2 separate regions of the Homo sapiens genome follow, and region 1 is linked to region 2. Evidence: promoter capture Hi-C in 16 types of primary human blood cells and fetal thymus (Javierre and others, 2016). All regions are on one chromosome and are shown on one strand. Each heading gives the region's core, a stretch centred on a gene start or on the middle of the fragment in contact. The rest is flanking DNA. Distances are from core to core; before and after follow the strand shown.

Region 1 (7,047 bases), core at 3,770-6,269, 1.5 Mb before region 2:
TAACCTGCTACCTGAAGGATGAGAAGCCAGGGGGAAGAGAGTCTGCGGAGAGTGGGGAGCGTGCTCCTGCAGAGCAAACAGGTTGCACCAAGGAGAAGGTGGAGGTGAGGTTGTGCAAGGAATGGACACATCCAGGTAGCCGACACAGGGGATGTGGAAGATGGAGTGACAAAGAGGAAGCCAGAGGGATGGACAGGCCTGGACCTCACAGTCCCTTTGAGCTATGATGAGGAGATTGAATGAACTCAAAGGACAGTGTCAGGATGAGAAGACTAATTGTTGTGTAATTTAATAGGAGATATTTTAGCTTAAAAATATCCAAAGTGGAAGTATGCCAAATGTATTCCTGAAATACTCTAAAAAATTTATAGTGAAAACAGTTGATATTTTGAAGCTGCAGAATTTTCATATGAAAAGGTGGTAGCTCAGGATTCAAATTTCCTCAGTTTCCAAACTGGGTTGACCCCTTCTAACTGTATGACTTGTCTGGATACATCAGAGCCTAAGCCCTAGTTTCTTTATCATTAAGACGGGGATAATAATAGTACTGACTATTCCACTGATTGATATCAACATTATATAGAAATTGGAACTGCAACTTTATTACATACAGAACATTTTTGTAAATTTCATTTTTCCTATGCTTTTCCTGTTTTTTTTTTTTTTTTTAAGTACACCATTTCTCTTTCAAGAGACAGAGGGAAAAACACACAAAAAAGTAAATGGTACAATTAGTATGTCAAGGTGACTTACTAATGACTTGTATAACAGAGAAAAATGTATGCTTTGCCTGCAAGGTAGCTAGGGCTAACCAATCTGCAGGCCTTTTCCCTTTTAATAGAAGAATTCAATGAGGCCCATGCTATTCTTGTCTCCTTTTATACTAAGGATATTTAATGAAAGGCAGTTTTATGTAATTGGTCCAAGATCATCGTCTAAAAAGTGGCAGAGTAAGACTCTACCTGATAGAGGCTGGTGTCCACTGACACATTAAGTTCTTCTTTGGCAACAAATAATATTTTTTAGTGATATTATATATACTTTGTAGACCCTTAACATTTTATTTATTTGGTTATGTACTACATTCAAAAATATTTGCAGGAATCATGGTGGCCTGATTGTATGAGCATTTTTACAATGCAAAAATCGGTACAAGAAACCAGAGTCAACATCGTTAAAATATTTTCCCACGTATCAGCGGCCCTGTCCTACAACCACTGGCAAATACTTTCATAGTTGTCTGAGCTAAAATACGAAGAGTGCACACATTTGTATAGGGAAATGAAGACTTTAGTGCATATGCATATGTGTGTTAACCAGTCTCATCTCAAGCAAGTTTTCCTTGCCTGAGAAAACTTTTTAAAACAGGAAATACTCTCCAAGTTCAAGGACTGACTGATTAAGCCCAACTCATTTTTATTTAGTCAGATGTGAAAAAATACACAGTTAATTGGTAGGCAAGATCTCAATGTACCAGAATCCAATTATGGCATCTTCAAAACACTAGTGAAATAAAAGTTAATGAGACATTTAAAGACATTACAATTTTATGATACTGATTTATTTTGAAAACTAGCAAGGATAAATTTAAGTTTAATATGCTGAATTAAATTCTCTGTCTTCACTTTGGAATTTCAACCAAAAGAAATATCATTAAATAGTGAATAGTAAATATATATATGTAGTTGTATATGTAAATACATATATATATATATATATATATTTGCTGTGTTTCTAATTAAGAGTTCCTTTTGTTCTTTTCTTTTTTATATTGGTGTTGGAATTTGGTCAGTTGTATTCTTATTGCCCTCTGAATTATAGTAAATGAAGGGAACAAAACACTCCAAATCAGCAATAATTGAAACATGACTGGACATATACCAATGCTAACAAAACTAATTACAACCATGAGTCTATATTATTACAAGTGTTACAATGAAGAGTGAAGTGGTTTGACATCTCTATATAACACTTGTTAAAATGTTTTTTCTCTACAATTAAAAGTTAATATTAAGTTTAAAATTATAAGGTCTATTAATAAGATAGCCTTAATATTCATCTTTTAAAATATTATATAGTCTTTTTTTCCCAATGATTAAAGGCTTATTTTGTAAGTTAGTTAAAGTAATGAAACCCATTCAGTTGATTAAATAGATGGGTCATAAGGAGGTGATTTATGATCTGTAACTATATAAAAGCAGATGAAAAAAAGTGAGAGGATTTAATGTCATGCACATAAAATATTATATAAGATTATTTACACCAGAAAAGCGTATCTGAGAATAAAAATGGGTAATTATATACAGCCATGGAACTTTATTAATTTACAAATTAAGCTGCATATTTTCAGCACTTTTTAAAGCAAAAATTCTACTTACTATATTCTCAATATACCTAAATTAAACTGTTGAATAAAGAATTGGGTATATGTATTGTTACATATGGTATACCTTTACAAATTAATTTGTGTGTTGGTATTTGTATGGAAAGTTGATTTTAATTCCTTTACAAAGCTTTGCATTGGGCTAAGACTCTGTGTAGTGTTATCTATGCTGTAAAGTTTCCTCATTTCTAAGCGATAGTCATAACTTCTTCAGTACCCCTTAGATTACCTTGACCATACCTAAGAATCTAACACTGACTTGACACATATTACATAATAAATAAAGTTATTGAACAAATGCACATATTTGTTATAATGTGAATTATGTATCTTTAAAACTTAACTCTGCTTCTCTCACCCACCAGACTGTAAAATCTTTGACACACAAGAACCATGTCTTTTTCATAATATTTTATTTTTGACCTTATCACAATATTAACCACAGTAAGAAATTAATTCATGTAGAAGTTAGATGTGCTTTTGCCTGAAAATAACAGAAAACTCAACCATCATAACTTAAATAAATATAGGTTATCCTGCTCACATAGCAAAGGATTCAGAGGTATGCATTCTACGTGTCATGCCATAATTCGCACCTTAAATCAGTCTCTTATCTTCATGATTCACCATTTTGAATGTTATGAGAAGGCTGTTATACTCACCTTCTTCCAGAACTATGTCCTTATTCAAACACACGGAAGGCAGAGGAAAGAGAGTTCCTCATTGTGATGTTCTCATATTTTTCTAGATGGGAAATCTTCTCAGTACCCTTCATCTCACATCCCAGCCGCCAGAGCCAGACCCTATGGCTGCCTTGAGACTAGTCAATAGTCAACAGATGAAGGGCATCATGGAAAATGTAGACTATGATTCAACCTCTGGGACTGGGATAGAGGCTTGTTAACCTATAGATCAATAGGTTGTGCATTCTGCCTGAACAAATTGAGGCTTCGCAGGGATAAAGAAAACCATTATGTAGTTAGTGGACAATAAATATTACAATTTGTATTTCGTAGTGGACAATGTTACAATAGATATGACCTAAGTAGAACTGGAATTGTCAAAATGAATTATTTATGTCATATGCTATCTTCAATTGCATCTTTATATTTTTATTTGTATTTGGCAAAATTGAATACGAGCATTTTCTGTTTCTTAGTGGATAGTTACAAGTGTTTAAATTCCTCTGTATTTTTAGTTACACTGGAAAAATATGCAATATTGAAAAAGCACGGCCAGGCATGGTGGCTCACGCCTGTAATCCCAGCACTTTGGGAGGCTGAGGCGGGTGGATCACGAGGTCAGGAGATCGAGACCATCCTGGCCAACATGGTGAAACCCCATCTCTACTAAAATACAAAAAATTATCTGGGCGTGGTTGCGCATGCCTGTAGTCCGAGCTACTCAGTAGACTGAGGCAAGGGAATCGCTTGAACCCTGGAGGCAGAGGTTGCAGTGAGCCGAGATCATGCTACTGCACTCCAGCCTGGTGACAGAGCAAGACTCTGTCAAAAATAAAAAAAAAGCATTGTTTTCATCAATTTTCAAAAAAAAAAAAAAAAAAAGTGTAGGTCTTGTTCCTGTATTTACAAGGGAAATTTCAGCGTGAAATTATGGTCTCTATCTTTTCTCAGGTCTTAAAAATAAATATGAATTTAGATTCCATACATCGATTAATTGAGGAAACACAGATCTTCCAGATGCAACAATCATCAATTAAGTCACGCGGCGACATGGTGGCACCTGCCTCACCCCCCAGGGATACCTGTAATACCTGCTTCCCACTTCATGGGCTACAATCTCATGCTGCTCACAATTTCTGTGCTCACTCATATAACACCAACAAATGGGATATTTGTGAAGAACTTCGCCTGCGGGAGCTTGAAGAAGTCAAGGCCAGAGCTGCTCAGATGGAAAAGACCATGCGGTGGTGGTCGGACTGCACTGCCAACTGGAGAGAAAAATGGAGTAAAGTTCGAGCTGAAAGGAACAGTGCCAGGGAGGAAGGAAGACAACTCAGAATAAAACTAGAGATGGCGATGAAAGAATTGAGTACACTGAAAAAGAAACAGAGTTTGCCACCTCAGAAGGAGGCATTAGAAGCTAAAGTTACCCAGGATCTGAAGCTTCCTGGCTTCGTAGAAGAATCCTGTGAACATACAGACCAATTTCAATTGAGTTCACAAATGCATGAGTCTATCAGAGAGTATTTGGTAAAAAGACAATTTTCTACAAAGGAGGACACAAATAATAAGGTAAGAAAAAAATCCAGAGATGATGTGAATTTCTGAAGGTCATATATAGTGATGGGGAGGAAGAAGGAAGTGACAAATGCAATGGTGATTATACTAGCCTGCCAGGGCTACCATAACAAAGTACCATAATCACAGTGGTTTAAGCAACAGAAATTCATTTTCTTACAATTGTAGAAGCTAGAAGTACAAGATCAACATGCTAGCAGGGTTGGTTTCTTCTGAGGCCTCTCTCCTTGGCTTATAGAAAGCCGTTTTCTCCCTGTGTCTTCACATGGTCTTTTCTCTGTACACATGTCTGTGTCTTAAGGTCTTCTTGTAAGGGCACCATCATTAGGCCCACCCTAATGACCCTAATTTAACTAAATCACCTCCCTAAAGGCCCTGTCTCCACCAACAGTCACATTCTGAGGTACTGGGGGTTAGGAGACCTAACAAGAAAGATATGTATATGTATCCTTCGTCTGACTTCAATACTTTCCGTGAACAACACATCTTATTTTATTGCTTGTCAAAATATTATAGTACAGATGATTGCAATGCTCATTCTTGAGAGAATTAAGGAATGAATCATCCTAGGTAACCTGGAATCCACATACTACTTAAAAAATAAAATAAAAGTGAAGTATCATCGAGATTTTACTGGAACTTGACTATTCATTGAGATTTTATTTGAAATTGTCTTTCATTTCAAACTTATAAACCAGGGCAAATTTAAATTGTAGGCAAATACCAATAGCATGAGTCCTGTGAAGTTTTTGAGTTACGCTCTAAGAGTGTCGTGCAGTTGTTGCTCTAGTACTGATGTCCATGTTTATTAAAGCGCCCCATTAAATTCTATTTAGATGTGACTCATGAATTAAAGCAATAAGGGGAACTAAAATGAAGCAATAAGCAAGCTTTTTAAAATATTCAACAGCTTCCTGAAAATTCTATCTTGTCTTTCAAAAATGTTAAAAAATGATTGCTTTGAAACTGTAAGTGTCTTATGACAAAAGAAACTTGAAAGAGGAATTCATCAACTCATTAAAAATTATTTACAGCTGTTCAAGTTTGTGCAGAGTTATTTTTAGCTGCGATTAGAAAAAGAGAACAAACAAGAGTTAAAGCAGAACTTTTGAGAAATGTATTTTTTTTATGAGAAAGTAGAACATAGAAAAAAACAAGCTCAAAGAAGAATGCAAGTAAGTGTGGCCACACAACACTTTCAGGGAATGATAATGAAATAAAAATATGAATTGGTTGTGGTATCGTAACATTTATTTCTTTATGAAAATGTTTTGTCATCATGATTTTTCTCCAGGAGGTTTAAATATGTTTTGTTTTGTTTTGTCTTCAGGAACAAGGTGTGGTTATTGATTCTCTAAAATTAAGTGAGGAGATGAAGCCCAATCTAGATGGTGTTGATTTATTCAACAATGGTGGTTCTGGAAACGGTGAAACGAAAACTGGGCTGAGACTGAAAGCAATAAATCTGCCTTTGGAAAATGAAGTAACTGAAATTTCAGCTTTGCAGGTGCATTTGGATGAATTCCAAAAAATCTTATGGAAGGAAAGAGAGTAAGTGCTAATCATTGTCTCCCTTAACCAAGTCTAAGTTTCAAATCACTTAAAATTGTTAATACAGATAGATTGGTCATTTGATAATGTATTTTATCCATGTTTAGTCATTAAGTTTTAGGATTTAAAGAAATTAGTTTGATATATATTCATATGTTGAATTTTAAAATGTAGTTTATAACTTGTTAGTGTTTTCCATTCTTTTAAGTTGACTTTTATCATGACTATGTTTTTATCTTCTCTGGTAGATTCACTTTAATTGTATATGAATTCTTAATGTACAAGGTTAAAATATCCAGTGTATTATTTAAGTTTGACAGCATCTTGGACTTGGTCAGTAAAAATGAATAAATATGTTAATATTAATAGTGGAAAAATCACAATTTTGTGAGATATTTATTACAGAAAAAGTAGTCTTATACATGGACCATTAAGGGCATCAGGCTTTTGCTTAATTGGCCTGGATATTCATCTTTGGTCTGATGTCTTCTAGCTATGTGATGTTGGCTGTTGCCCCTTTGTGAAAATAGCTGTAGTGCTGTTATGTTCCAGTTATCTATTATCTTGAAACAAACTTTTCCAAGTAATTATCATTAAAACATATCAACAGCAACCACCCTGTCTTCTGTTCAAGAATCGCGAGCATGGCTTGGCATGGACATTGTATCTCTCACTTGTGCCTTCAGTTGCAAGGGCTCAAAGGCTGGCAATGCATGGAAGGCTGGGGGCTGCAGCCTCTTTCACTCATATCTGGCAGTCCATCTCGGTTTTCATCTATGCCTCAGTTGGGACACCTGCACTGGGGCTATTTAAGGGGGTGCTTGGCTTCCTCACAACATTGGGGCTAGGTTG
Region 2 (6,653 bases), core at 3,869-6,368:
AGAGCTACCACAATAAAATACCTTCAGCTGGAAATGGTGGCTCACACCTGTAACCCCAGCACTTTGGGAGGTTCAGGCGGGCAGATCGCTTGAGTCCAGGAGTTTGAGAGCAGCCTGGGCAACACAGTGAGACCCCATCTCTTAAAAAAAATGAAAAACAAAACTAGACAGGCATGGTGGTGTGCCTGCAGTCCCAGCTACTCAGGAGGCTGAGGTGGGAGGATCGCTTGAGCCCAGGACGTGGAGGTTGCAGTGAGCTGAGATCCTGCCACTGGGCATCAGAGTGAGACCCTGTCTCTAAAATAAAATAAAATAAAATAAAACAATAAAATAATAAAGTACCTCCAACTAGGTGGCTTAACACAGTAGAAATTTATGGTTTCACAGTTCTGGATGTAGGAATTACAAAATCCAGGTGACACCAGGGCCATGCTGCCTCGGAAGGCTCTGATGAAATCCTTCCTTTCCTCTTCCCAGTTTCTGGTGTTGACAGCAATTCTTGGTGTTCCTTGACTTGCAGATGCATTGGTCTAGTCTCTGCCTCCCCAGAGTTCTCTCTATGTGTCTTTACCGCCTCTCCTCTCCTTGTGTGTCTGTCTCTGTGTCTCTTGTCCTCTTATAAAGACACCAATCACATTGGATTTAAGGGCCCACTCTATCCCAGCAGGACCTCATTTCAACTTAACAGTGGCAAAGATCCCACTTCCAACAAAGTCACATTCTAAGGTTCTGGAAAGGACACGCTTCTTTGGAGGACATTATGTAACCCAGGACAAGTACCATGCAAGGGAAATTTGTGTGTGTGGAGTATGGCGCCTAAACCATCAAGACAGGAAGGCAGGAACAGCAGAACGGCAATGGGAGGGAGGGAAGGAAGTGGAGGGTGGTAAATTTTGCTTGCTTTGCAGCTTTTCACAGGGCCCCGAGAGTGCTTTTAGCACTAAGGATGTACAGTCACGCACCGAATAATGGTTTGGTCAATGGCATACATGACTGTGATCCCATTGTAAGATTATAATGCTGTATCTTTACTGAACCTTTTCTATGTTTAAATATGTTTAGATACACAAATACCATTGGGTTACCATTTGCTTACATAATTCAGTACAGTAGCATGCAGTACAGGTCTGTAGCCTAGAAGCAACAGGCTATACCCTATTATTCTAGGTGTGTAGTAGGCTACCTCTAGGTTTGTGTAAATACAGTCTATCATGTTAGCACAAGGACGAAATCACCTAGTAATGCTTGTCTCAGAACATAGCACTTTCGTTAAGTGAGGTATGACTGTACTTGAATCACCAGGACTAGGATGGAAGGCTGCACACTGTAACCCACCCAGCTTCCACCCAGTTTTCTCAAGTCTAGACTTCTCTTTTTCCCCTTTTAGATGAAGGGAAGAGGTTTAATATTAGAAATCAAACAAGACTCAAAATTGGGAAATGTCAAAACTTTGTCACTTTGGGCAAATCATTTGATCTCTCAGTCTGTTTCCTCCTCCTTAAAATGAGGATGTTGGACTGTTTTCATGTCTGTAAAAAGAGGATGTTGAGGATGATCATTAAGGGTGCTTCTGGCTCTATAAGCTATTGCTCTAGGAGGAAGCAGTGGAACTGTGCTCCCCTGTCACTGTTAAGAGGATAGATTTTCAATATGACCAGTGGCTATCCCCATTTTTTAACAAGCATATCTATCAGACAGCATTTGTAACGGTAAACAACAGAAATTGGTTATCTTGAGCAAAACAGGGATTTATTAGAAGGCTTTGGGGACTGGCACCAGGATCAATTTGGTGCAGGTACCTTATTACAGTAGATGTGATCCCATCCTCTTCCAGGAGCTTTCCATGATTATATCACTTGCACAACAGTAAGCATCTGGACAAGAGTTTCTTTTCTTTTCTTTTCTTTTCTTTCTTTTCTGGTTTCTTTTCCTTTCTTGCTTGCTTGCTTGCTTGTTTATTGAGATAGAGTTTCGCACTGTTGCTCAGAATGGAGTGCAGTAGCATGATAGTGGCTCACTGCAACCTCTGCCTCCTGGGCTCAAGCAATCCTCCAGCCTCAGCCTCCTGAACAGCTGGAACTATAGGCATGCGCCATCACGCCCAGCTAATTGTTGTATTTTTAGTAGAGACAGGGTTTTGCCACGTTGCCCAGGCTGGTCTCAAATTCCCTGGCTCAAGTAATCCACTGGCTTTGGCCTCCCAAAGTGCTGGGATTACAGGTGTGAGCCACTGCGCCCAGCCTGGTTCTTTTTGTAGACAGAGTCTTGCTCTATTGCCCAGGCTGGAGTGTAGTGGCATGTTCATAGCTCACTGCAACCTGGAACTCTTGGGCTTAAGTGATCCTCCCACCTCCATGCCACTACGCCCTGCTAATATTTTAATTTTTTGTAGAGATGACATCTGGCCATGTTGCCCAGGCTGGTCTCGAATCGCTGGCCTCAAGTGAACCTCCCGCCTTGGCCTCCCAAAGTGCTGGGATTACAGGTGTAAGCCTCCCTGTCTGGCCTAGGCAAGAGTTTAAGTAGGTGAGTCATGGGCACATATCTTAGCTGTGCTGGGTGTTGTTAGGGCAAAGATAAGATTTCCTCCAAACGGAGAGTGAGTGCTGATGGAAAAAAGGGTTCATTGGCAGACAGCCAAGAAGATATCACATGTTTATGGCCAAGAAGTGTTTGGAATTCAGCCATGCATGGAGATTTTAATAGTATATCTAGACACTAATATCTCTACCCTGAAGTTGTTGCTATGTTATTGTTATCACTATGTAGTGGTAAAGGGCTCATATTCTGAAATCACAGAGGCCTAAGCCTGAATTCCAACTCTGCCCCACAGTAGCTGTGACTTTGGGAGAGTAAATTACTACTATCACACTGCAAGTCTCAGTTTCCTCATCAGAAATATGGCGGTGATGTTAATACTGACCTTATAGGATTGATATGAAAATTGAAGGATATGACATATTCAAAAGAGCTGAATGCAAGGCCGGACTCATGAAGTTTTATTACCTAGATTAGGCCCCTAGGGGTTTTTGTGCATTATTTCATGTAATCTTACAACTATTTGACATAATTAATATCGAGCCCCCTCACTCACCCTTTACAAAAGTAGAAACTGAGGTTCCAACTGAGAAACTTGTTTGAGGTCACACAGCTGTATGACCTGTCAAAACTGTGCTTCTGCACCAGCTCTGCCAGACTCAGAACCCCAGGGTCTTAACCATACATTTAAGTGTCTCCTAAAAGAGTCAACACTTCCCCATCCTGCACAGCCCCATTGCTGCGTGAAAGGCTCACTAACCCCCTGCTGCACAGCTCCTACTGGTTGTCATTTTAGAAAATATAGGGAGACACTGGAACTCCGAGGCAGTAGGATTGAAACGTTTGCTTCTTTTCTTTTTTTTTTTTTTGAGACGGCATCTAGCTCTGTCACCCAGGCTGGAGTGCAGTGGTGCGATCTCGGCTTACTGCAACCTCCGCCTCCCGGGTTCAAACGATTCTCCTGCCTCAGCCTCCTGAGTAGCTGGGATTACAGGCAGCTGCCACCACGCCCAGCTACTTTTTGTATTTTTAGTAGAGATGGGGTTTCACTGTGTTGGCCAGGCAGGTCTCGATCTCCTGATCTTGTGATCCGCCCGCCTCGGCCTCCCAAAGTGCTGGGATTACAGGCATGAGCCACCGTTAATTACTGTTTGTTGTGTTTCCCACTAACTTCTCTGACAATTCTATTTCAACCTACATTCTCCAATCACTGTAATTAGATATTTGAGAATTGTGTTGCATTTCAATCACGGTAACAATAATGGTAGTATTTTATTAATAAATTCAAGTAAAAACTGAAGATGACAATGATAGTGTATGATACATGACATCAACTTTGCATCACCTAAAGATCCAACTTTTCTGTTATGAATCTAGATTTCTTGGGGAAATCCAGATTGTATATTGGACATAGGAATTAAGATTACTGGACTTGAACTTTTTTGTAACTAACAACTTTATTGAGATATAATTCGGGTACCAACTCATACCTGAACAGCTTTTTAGACTTTTTTTCTAGCCCTTTTTTCTCTGTCCTTTCGGTTTTCTTTTAAAAAGGTCCATACTATTCAAGAAACACAACTTTTAAAGTCCACAATAATTCTCATTAGATTTTAATATTTATCTCCCCCCAAGCTTTACTGAAATACTAATGATATTCATTTTTTTAACCACTTTTCATCGTAAGAGAAATACAAATTTTCCTATTGATTCTTATGCACAAAAATCAAGTTTTTGTGGTACTGCTATACATTAGTAGTATGTTCAGCCAGTTTCCAAAGAAATTAGTCAAGATCCCAACATGCAACTTGTATACCACACTACCTTGGAATTCGGCGGCACAAACAACTATTCCTTGTACAAAACCTCCCTGAAAACGACTAAATGGAAAAGTGGATGGCTTGAAACAAGGAATGTTTGGTTTTTTAAAAAGCATTTTTCACAATTTAGTCGAGGTGTGGGGAGGGTTTCCCCACTTGTGGCTCTGCACAGCGTGCGCGCGCGTCTGTCCTGGGGTCCCCTCCCTGCGGGGACGAGGCCGGGGTCCCCGCGCGAGCCCAGCGGACCTGGGCAGTGCGGGGGTCCGACCGCCCGCCACAGGGGGACAGGGACCGCAGCCGCCAAATCCGCGGGGCCGGGGAACGAGGAGACTTTCCTTTCCGCGTTAGCCGGGGCCACCCCCGCCAGAGGGAAAGCACCAAAGGAAAAACCAGGACAGGGACTCTGGGGGCCGGAGGAGCGGCCTCCTGCAGGCACCAGCGGAGGGGCGCGGGGGTGGGGGAAGGGATCAGGGCTCCGCGCTCCGTCCGCCCCACGACCCCGGCCCGGCGCCCCTCCCCTCGGAACCCCCACTTAGTGCCCGGCCCCCGCCCCGCCCCGCGCGGCCCCCGGCCTCAGCCCCGCGCGCCCCGACGCCCCGCCTGCGCCGCGGGCCCGAGTAGTGGACGGGGGGCGGCCCGCTCGGCTCCTCCGCACCCGCTCCCCGCTCGGGCCGAGGCGCCGCGGCCGCGCGCCCCTCCTGGAGGAGGAGGAGGAAGGAGGCGGGAGGAGGAGTTGCCGAGAGGAGAAGGCGAGCGCGGCAGTCGCGCCGGCGCTGGGCGAGGAAGCGGAGCCGGGCCGCCTCCGGGTAAGCGTCCGGGGAGCTCGGGCGGGAGGCAGGGGCAGGGCTTCGCCGTCCGCCTCCGGGTCGCCCGCGGTCCGGGACACGGCTGGTTTTCGCCTCGGAGTGCAGGGGGCGGATCCGGCGCGGGCCGGGCCAGGGAGGCCGCCGGGCGCGGGGCTGCAGCGACGGGTCTGGGTCAGCGCGAGGCCCTGCGCCGTCTCGGCGGGTGCGCGGGCGGGGGCCAGGGCCGGGGAACGGGGGCCGGGGCCAGTCCCGGGAGCGGGGACGCGGAAACCGGGAAGCCGGGGCCGGGGCGCGGCGGCCCCTGAAGGGCCGAGGCCTGCGCGGCCGCGGACGGCTCTTCTCGACCCCTCGGCCTCTTCGGCCGCGGCGCGCCGGCCTGGGCCGCCGCCTTTGTTGCCCGCAGCTCGCCGGGGAGAGGCCGGGGCTCCGCGAGGCCTGGGCAGCGGCGCGGGGCCTGCGCGGCTCTGCGCCCCGGCCGGGTCCCTCCTCGGACCTCCGCGGGCTCGGGCTCGGGCTCGGGGTCGGGGCGCGGCGAGGCCGCAGGCGCGAGGGCGGGCCTGGGGCGCGGCGCTGGGACTCGGGGACGCCCCCGCCCCACCGCGAGGTCGCGCCGGCGCTGGTGGAGGTGCAGGCCGGGGCTGCTCTGCGGCTGAAGGTGCCGCCGGCCGGCTGCGCACTCACCCGGGTGTAGGGACCGGACGATTGTGGAATTTAAACCGCTCCTGGGACCGACACGGGCCTGAATTTTCAGTTTGCTTCGGGAGTTGGCAACTTCAGGTACACCCTTGTGGCTCACGGAGCAGAATTATGGACGTTTCTCAGGGGCAGATCCTGGCACAAAACTTGGGATATGTGCAGTAGTGTGTGTGCCAACTTAACGTTCAGTTGGAATGTGAAATTGGGGTTCCCATCCCCACTGTTTGGAATGAAGGGCCAGGTGGGAATATGTGGCGGGACTCAGTCTTCCGGTAGCAAAATAAATAATGTTGAATTCATTTCAACAAATGTTTCTGCAACGTCTGCCCGGATAAGGCAGCATGCACTGTGCATGAGGACAGAGAACACAGTAATGACAGAAATAACGTGAATTACACACTGAACGTCTCCCAGAGACATTTTAAATTTACTGTGTTCCTTGGGATAAAGATACATTTGGAATCAAACAAAAGTAAACGTTCTACTTCAAGATAAAATATCTGACATCTTCTCAACCACTGAAGGTAGCAATTTATCTTGACTTGTTTTTAACCAACTACCACAACATTAAATCCATTTAGCTTACTTGAATGAACGAATCTTAATTGTAATATTTAATGCTGTGGACAGCCTTACTTAAAAACACGAATGGCATTGCTCACCAGGTTTCACAAAAACCGGAAAAAAAGTCTGTAATACTTTTCCGTGGGCTTTCTAATTTCTCCTCCTAGTGGGTTTTGTGCACGCGTGGATATGGTAAGGTCTAGGATCCATTCAGCTCTAAATTAAATAT

What was found. The method cuts DNA at HindIII sites, captures the fragments that hold promoters and counts their contacts. A CHiCAGO score of 5 or more calls a contact.
Region 1: a fragment that was not itself captured here is called in contact with the fragment with the promoter of SOCS6 in region 2 in 4 of 17 cell types (M0 macrophages, M1 macrophages, M2 macrophages and 1 more); the score reaches 12.9 in M0 macrophages.

What each region holds. Positions count from the first base shown.
Region 1 is chr18:68,832,732-68,839,778 of GRCh38, forward strand. It overlaps CCDC102B (coiled-coil domain containing 102B), which reads left to right. Exons shown (of 8, transcript NM_024781.3): 2 at 4,018-4,638; 3 at 5,975-6,195. The coding sequence starts at 4,033. Among named protein-coding and RNA genes, the nearest start is that of CCDC102B, 38 kb to the left of the region's middle. The HindIII fragment of the contact is 1,025 bases long and covers 4,508-5,532 here.
Region 2 is chr18:70,283,927-70,290,579 of GRCh38, forward strand. SOCS6 (suppressor of cytokine signaling 6) reads left to right here and starts at 5,119. Exons shown (of 2, transcript NM_004232.4): 1 at 5,119-5,164. RefSeq lists a silencer at 4,955-5,854. The HindIII fragment of the contact is 7,416 bases long and covers 4,172-6,653 here.